Linked DNA regions of Homo sapiens: region 1 is linked to region 2. The links are contacts of gene promoters, found by promoter capture Hi-C in blood cells and fetal thymus (Javierre and others, 2016). All regions are on one chromosome and are shown on one strand. The core of a region is centred on a gene start or on the middle of the fragment in contact, and the rest is flanking DNA. Distances in the headings are between cores, read along the strand shown.

Region 1 (3,293 bases), core at 625-3,124, 480 kb after region 2:
TCCATTAGTCCTGGCCAAAACAGAAACCTGGTATAAGCCACAGCAATAAGTAGGAATGTTGTACTCATCTTTAAAGACAAGAGGCAAACAAAGATCTAAGAATTCTTGGCAGCACAGAGCATCTTGCTGCATTTTCAGGCAATGAAGTCTATCAGCTAAAGTAGTGGATTCTGCATAAGAACACATGGGTTTGAGTCTTGGTTCTTTGACCTCCTGGCTGTAACTTCTTAGGAGGTCATTTAATCTTCATCATAATTTGTTTCCTCATCTATGAAAATAGGACTTTGCCTTGGAGATCTCTATGGTGACTTTCAGCTCTAAGTTCTGTGATTCCAAGCATCTCAATCAATATGTATATTATTATCATTTTGGAGACGACCATATTACCATTTGTTTCCACTTCATGCTACTACTTAAAAGCATATCAAAAATCTCTTATAACTCAATAAGAGAAAGGGCAATTAAAAAATGAGTAAAAGATCTGAGTAGACATTTATCCAAATAAGATAATATACAAATGGAAAATAACCATATGAAAAGATGCTCAACAGACAGACAGAGAAGAAGGATGGTTACCAGAGCCTGGGAACGGTACTGGGGGCTAGAGGAGAGCTAGCGATGATTAATGGGTACAAAAAAGAGTTAGAAAGAATGAATAAGGTCTACTATTTGATAAGCACAATAAAGTGACTATGGTCAGCAATAACAATTGTACATTTTAAAAATAATGAATGTAACTGGATTGTTTGTAACTCGAAGGATAAATACTTGAGGGGATGGATACTCCATTCTTCATGACATGCTTATTTCACATTGCATGCCTGTATCAAAACATCTCATGTACCCCATAAATATATACACCCACTATGTACCCACAAAAAAATTTAAAAATTAAAAAAAAATTTTAAAGATGCTCAACATTATTATCATCAGATAAATGCCATTCAAAACCACAACGAGATACCACTTCATACCCCTTAGAATGACTAAAATAAAAAAGACTGACAATAACACGTGTTGTGGAGGATGTGGGAAGAACTCAGAATCCCAATACATAGCTAGTGGGATTGTAAAATTATGCAGCTGCTTAGAAAACAGTTTAGCAATTCCTCAGTTAAACATAGACGTTCTACATAACCCAACAGTTCTACTTCTAGATGTATACCCAAGAGAATTGAAAACATTAAGTTAAAAAAGTTCTACACAAATGTTCATAGCAACACTATTCACAGCAGCTAAAACGTGGAAACAATACAAACATCTATCAATGATGAATGGGTAAATAAAATGTGGTCTTACCCATACAATAGAACATTCTTCAATAATAAAAAGAATGATATATGAATACACATTACAATATGGATGAACCTCCAAAATGTACTAATTGAGAGAAGACAGTCACAAAAACTACATATTTTATGATTCCATATTTATGAAGTGTCCAGAAGAGGCAAATCCATAGACACAGAAAGTAGTTTCCTGGTTACCTAGGGCTGGAAACACTTTGGGGAAGTGGAGGAGGGGTGTGATTGCTAAAGGGTATAGGTTTCTTTTGAGATGCTGAAAATATTCTGAAATTAATTGTGGTGACAGTCGCACAATTTTGCAAATATACTGAAAATCATTAAATTATGCTAAAAATGGGTGAGCTGTATGGTATGTAAATTAGATCTCAATAAAGCTGTTACAAAGAAACAACAGTATATCTGAACTTTCTCCCCTGCACCACCTCTCCTCTCATCATATCCAGTGACAATCAATGAGATACTGAACTAATGCCTTGACAACTATAGTAGTCTGGAATGATAGTGCCATCCTACTGTATCTCATTCATTATTTTAATACTCAAGCAATTTGGATGCAGTATAGACGGCCAACACATAATTCTATGTTGCTGTTATTCAAACCCAAACTCCTAACAGAAGACATTTCTAGGTCTTATTCGCTCTTCTTTTTTTTTTTTAGACAGAGTCTCACTCTGTCACCCAGGCTGGAGTGCAGTGGCGCGATCTCAGCTCACTGTAACCTCTACCTCCCAGGTTCAAGCGATTCCCGTGCCTCAGCCTCCCAAGAAGCTGGGATTACAGGCATGTGCCACCACTCCTGGCTAATTTTTGTATTTTTGGTAGAGACGAGGTTTCACTGAGTCACCCAAGCTGGTCTCAAAATCCTGAGTTCGAGTGATCCGCCCACCTTGGCCTCCCAGGCAAGAGCCACTGTGCCTGGCTTTTTTTTTTTTTTTTTTTTCTTACTCATTAACCACTCCCACCTCTCTCCCACCCCCCACTACCCTTCCCAGCCTCTGGTAACCATCCTTCTATTCTCGATCTCCATGAGTTCAATTGTTTTGATTTTTAGATCCCACAAATAAGTGAGACACAACAGGGGGCCTATAGTCAATAATATTTTAATTGCACCTTTTAAAATAACTAAAGGAGTGTAATTAGATTGTTTGTAGCACAAAGGATAAATGCTTGAGGGAATAGATACCTAATTTTTTCATGATGTGGTTATTACGCATTGCATGTCTGTACCAAAATATCTCATGTACCCCATAAATATATATACCTATGTAATCACAAAAATTAAAAATAAAAAAATACATATTCTAGAAAGACATTTACTAAGATGAATGCTAGAAGCTGGCTTTTTAAAAATTTTTATACTGGAAGTGACCATTGTCAGTTAATGGCACATGATGAATTGGGCATAAACAGGACATCCACAGAATGAGCAAACATTTTTCAATTCTTTCTTTAATCCTTGAATTCATTCAGTGTGAATTTTTAAACTGAATATGAGGGTTTGCAAAAGGAAACTTTATCCTTTCTGAAGCTCACTAATTTTTAAGTTCACACACATAAAAATGATGCTTTGAAAACCTTCGCTAAATTATGCACATGAAAATAAACAACAATCTAGGAAGCAAATTTCTCAAAGTCTACAATGATGAGGCTAATCACAATCATAAATTGAGCCTTATAGAGCACGCCAAATGTCTGCAGCAATTACACCTACCTGTTTCATTTGCCCGAGCTTCAGGTAGGCCAAAAGACATTCACTGTGAAAGTCACCATGACTGATTTTTCTTTAATCAAATCAGAAATGTAAATTTCCTTTTCTAATAACACAGGGCCAGAGGAGATGATTTTCATTATAGAAAGGGCTGTGGATGCATGAGGACATTCTAGAAATCTGGGCCAAATAGTATTTTTAGACATCAAGAGCTAGTGAGAATTTGTGTTACTTAACTGCATTTTACAGTAAAACAAAATCTATAAGATGTCAGAGCA
Region 2 (3,266 bases), core at 270-2,769:
ATGCCAAACAGCTCTGAATGCTGACTGGTTCTAGGGAATGCACCTCTCTGCCCTCTGAGCTGCAGGGACAGGGAGATGAGCTGGCAGCAGCTGCCTCAGAGATAAGGATGTGAGACACAAACACCTAAGGAATTCCTTTGGACTTCCATCACCCCCCTCCATCCAACTTTATCAAAAGCGAGGTGGTGTGGGCAGCTGGCTCCTTTCAGCCTGGGCCCACCACATGGTATGCTTTCCTGCCTTCACAACATGCCCTTCTTGTAGCTTGATGGAAACTATGGTGAGGATCTTAGTCTGTTAGGGCTGCTATAATAAAATACCAAACAACAGCAATTTACTTCTCATAGTTTTGGAAGCTGAGAAGCCCAAGATCAAGGTGCCAGCAGACTCAGTTTCTGGTGAGGGCCCGCTGGCTGGTTCATAGACCATACCTTCTCACCATGTCTTCAAACGGAGGAAGGGGTGAGAAAGCTCCTTAAGGTCTCTTTTATAAGGGCATTAATCCCATTCACGAGGGATCCACCCTCATGACCTAATCACCTCCCAAAGGCCCCACCTCCAAATACCATCACATTGGGCTTCAGGTTTCAACATATGAATTTGGGGGGATCATAAACATACAGTCTACAGCAGGTTATAAATGGTATTTTCACTATGGGACTCAGGAGCATCTGAATCCTGTCCTACCCATCTCCCTTTAAAGGAGATACATAAAGCAACCCCTCCTTTAGCAAAAATTTTCTGGGCCTCTGGCTTCTTCCAAACAGGGATAGCTCAGTGTTATACACTAAGTAAGTTGTTGCATGAAAAATAAAAAAGAAAAGCCCCTGCACCTGTCTTTCTCAACAGACAACTGGCTGAAGTTTACAACTAGGCAGTATCTACTCCACTTAGTTTAGATACACTACTTAACTACCAGAGAGTTTCATCCCTTTTCATTTGCTCCTTTACTCAGTAACAGCTCTCAAAGATGGGGAAGGAAGAGAGGCATATCTAAGTTTTTAATATTAGTCTAATTTGCCAACTTAAGCTTTCAAATACCACTGAATAAATGACAAGTAGATTCACTGAATTTAGAGGGAGAAACACAATACTTCTTTAGGTTTTGTTTCAGGGGGATCAAGTTTTAAGAGGCAGTGAAATGAAGTCAGGTTCAACTGTTCCAAATTTCTAGACACGAGCAAAGCTTAAGCCATGCAACAATGTATTGCTTTTCTAAGGATTATTAATAATGCATTTGTAACTACTCAGAGACTGGCAATAAACTTTCAGAGAGTGAATAAGAATGTAATCTGTCCACAGCAACATAGACAAATTACTTTGATAAATTCTTTACGAGGGTGCCTCATCTCCTGCAATTCTTGGATTGGTTACAAGTCTATAGTTAATCCTTCAATAACTCCCACAAGCACCTCATTACTCATAATACTGTGACATCCTGAGTTGTAAAAGAGGTGCTGTTATATAACACAGGCACTGTATAGCAGCCTTAGGTTATGAATATTAAGAGACAATCTCAAATGAGATAATATCAATAAAGACCTCCTGTCGTCTCTACCCAAGAAATAAACTAAAGGAAGGCAGTGTCCTTGCAGGCATTTTGACATCAGGGATGGTAAGTACAGGCACTGTTTCCCTTTCAGTTTCATGATTGTCATCCCTCTCACCAAGCCATGACTTTAGAACTATGTTCACGGGTAAGACTGACTCAGTAATTTTACTTTCTCATACTATCATTTTCTGGCTTTTGCATTAAGGTTATAGTAATTTCATGAAGTGAATTGTGGAGCACTTAACTGGCTAGTTTGGTCCATTTACATTTACTGTGCTTACTGACATTTGGATTTATTTCTGCCTTGTCCTACTTATCCAGATTTCTCTATATCTATTTTCCCCTTCTTGATTGCCTTCCTTTGGACTGAGTTTTTTCTTTCTTATTCTAATAGTTCTGTTTTACTGGTTTGGAAGTTATGAATTCTATGTCTTTTAGTAGTTTCCTTGAAATTTTGCCATGCCTACTAAAACTTGACTATGCCTAAGTTAATTGATATATTTTCCATCCTAACAATACAAGGAATTTATAAGACTTTGATTCTCTTCATCCCCTCCCAACTTAACTGCTATTATTGTCTAGTATATTTATTCTGTGTTGTTTTTCATTAACCCCACATATTAGACATTATTATATGTTTCATACAGAAAATGTTTGCTTGGGTTGACTACTATGTTTGCCAATTTCTTTGCTGGCTATTCCTTCTTATATTTAAGACCTTGTTTCTCAGAAGAAATGTTCTTTTTCCTGAGGCATATCTTTTAGAAGTTCTGTAAATGAATGTCCATCTGTGAAAATGTTCTACTTTAAAAAATATCTGAAAATGTCTTTATTTTACCCTCGTGCTTTAATGATTATTTGATCAGATCTTTAATTCCAAGTTGCTGGTTGTTTTCTATCAGCATTTTAAAGATATTATTTCACTGTCTCCTTGATTCTGTGGTGGCTGTTGAGAAGTCAACCATCAGTTTAAATATTATTCCTTTATAAGGAACATTTTCCTCTGGCTGCTTTTAGGATTATCTCTTTATTTGCTGTTTTTATAACCAGGCATGCATGCAGTTCTTGTTGTTTATTTATTTATTTATTTTTGAGAAGGAGACTCACTCTGTCAGCCAGTGCAGAGGCTGGAGTGCAGTGGCATGATCTCGGCTCACTGCAAGCTCCGCCTTCTAGGTTCAAGCAATTCTCCTGCCTCAGCCTCTTGAGTAGCTGGGATGACAGGCGTGCACCACCATGCCTGTCTAATTTTTATATTTTTAGTAGAGATGGGGTTTTACCATGTTGGCCAGGTTGGTCTTGAACTGCTGACCTCAGGTGATCTATCCACCTCGGCCACCCAAAGAGCTTGGATTACAGGCGTGAGCCACCACGCCCAGCCCTTATTATTTTTGAGACTCACAGTATTCCCAGAATCTGAGTATGCATATCTTTCATACATTCTAGAAAATATTCTAAGCCATTATGTTTTCAAATACGTCTCCCCCATTGTCTCTATTCTCTCGTTCTTGAACCCCCACCTGTACTTATGTTAGGCCTTCTCATACTAGCTTCTGTGTCTCAATTACCCTTTCTCATTTTTTTACTTTCTTATTTCTCCATAGTATATTCCAAGTAATTTCTTAAGCTCTGTTTTAGTACATTGATATTTTTAAAGAAGATGTTTAATCTGCTAGTTAAGCCATCCACTGAATTTTAAATTCCAATAATTACA

The links. Contacts are between HindIII fragments. The CHiCAGO score rates a contact against its expected background, and 5 or more counts as called.
Region 1: a contact is called between a fragment that was not itself captured here and the fragment with the promoter of TMEM108-AS1 in region 2, in 1 of 17 cell types (M1 macrophages). The highest score is 5.6, in M1 macrophages.

Annotation. Positions count from the first base shown.
Region 1 is chr3:132,775,108-132,778,400 of GRCh38, reverse strand. The region is part of intron 3 of NPHP3-AS1 (NPHP3 antisense RNA 1); the gene reads right to left. LOC105374115 (a long non-coding RNA gene) reads left to right here. Exons shown (of 3, transcript XR_924500.3): 3 at 1-1,695. Among named protein-coding and RNA genes, the nearest start is that of NPHP3-ACAD11, 54 kb to the right of the region's middle. The HindIII fragment of the contact is 3,795 bases long and covers 1-3,293 here.
Region 2 is chr3:133,255,374-133,258,639 of GRCh38, reverse strand. TMEM108-AS1 (TMEM108 antisense RNA 1) reads left to right here and starts at 1,519. Exons shown (of 3, transcript NR_110812.1): 1 at 1,519-1,615. All of the region lies in intron 3 of TMEM108 (transmembrane protein 108), which reads right to left. The HindIII fragment of the contact is 5,600 bases long and covers 1,189-3,266 here.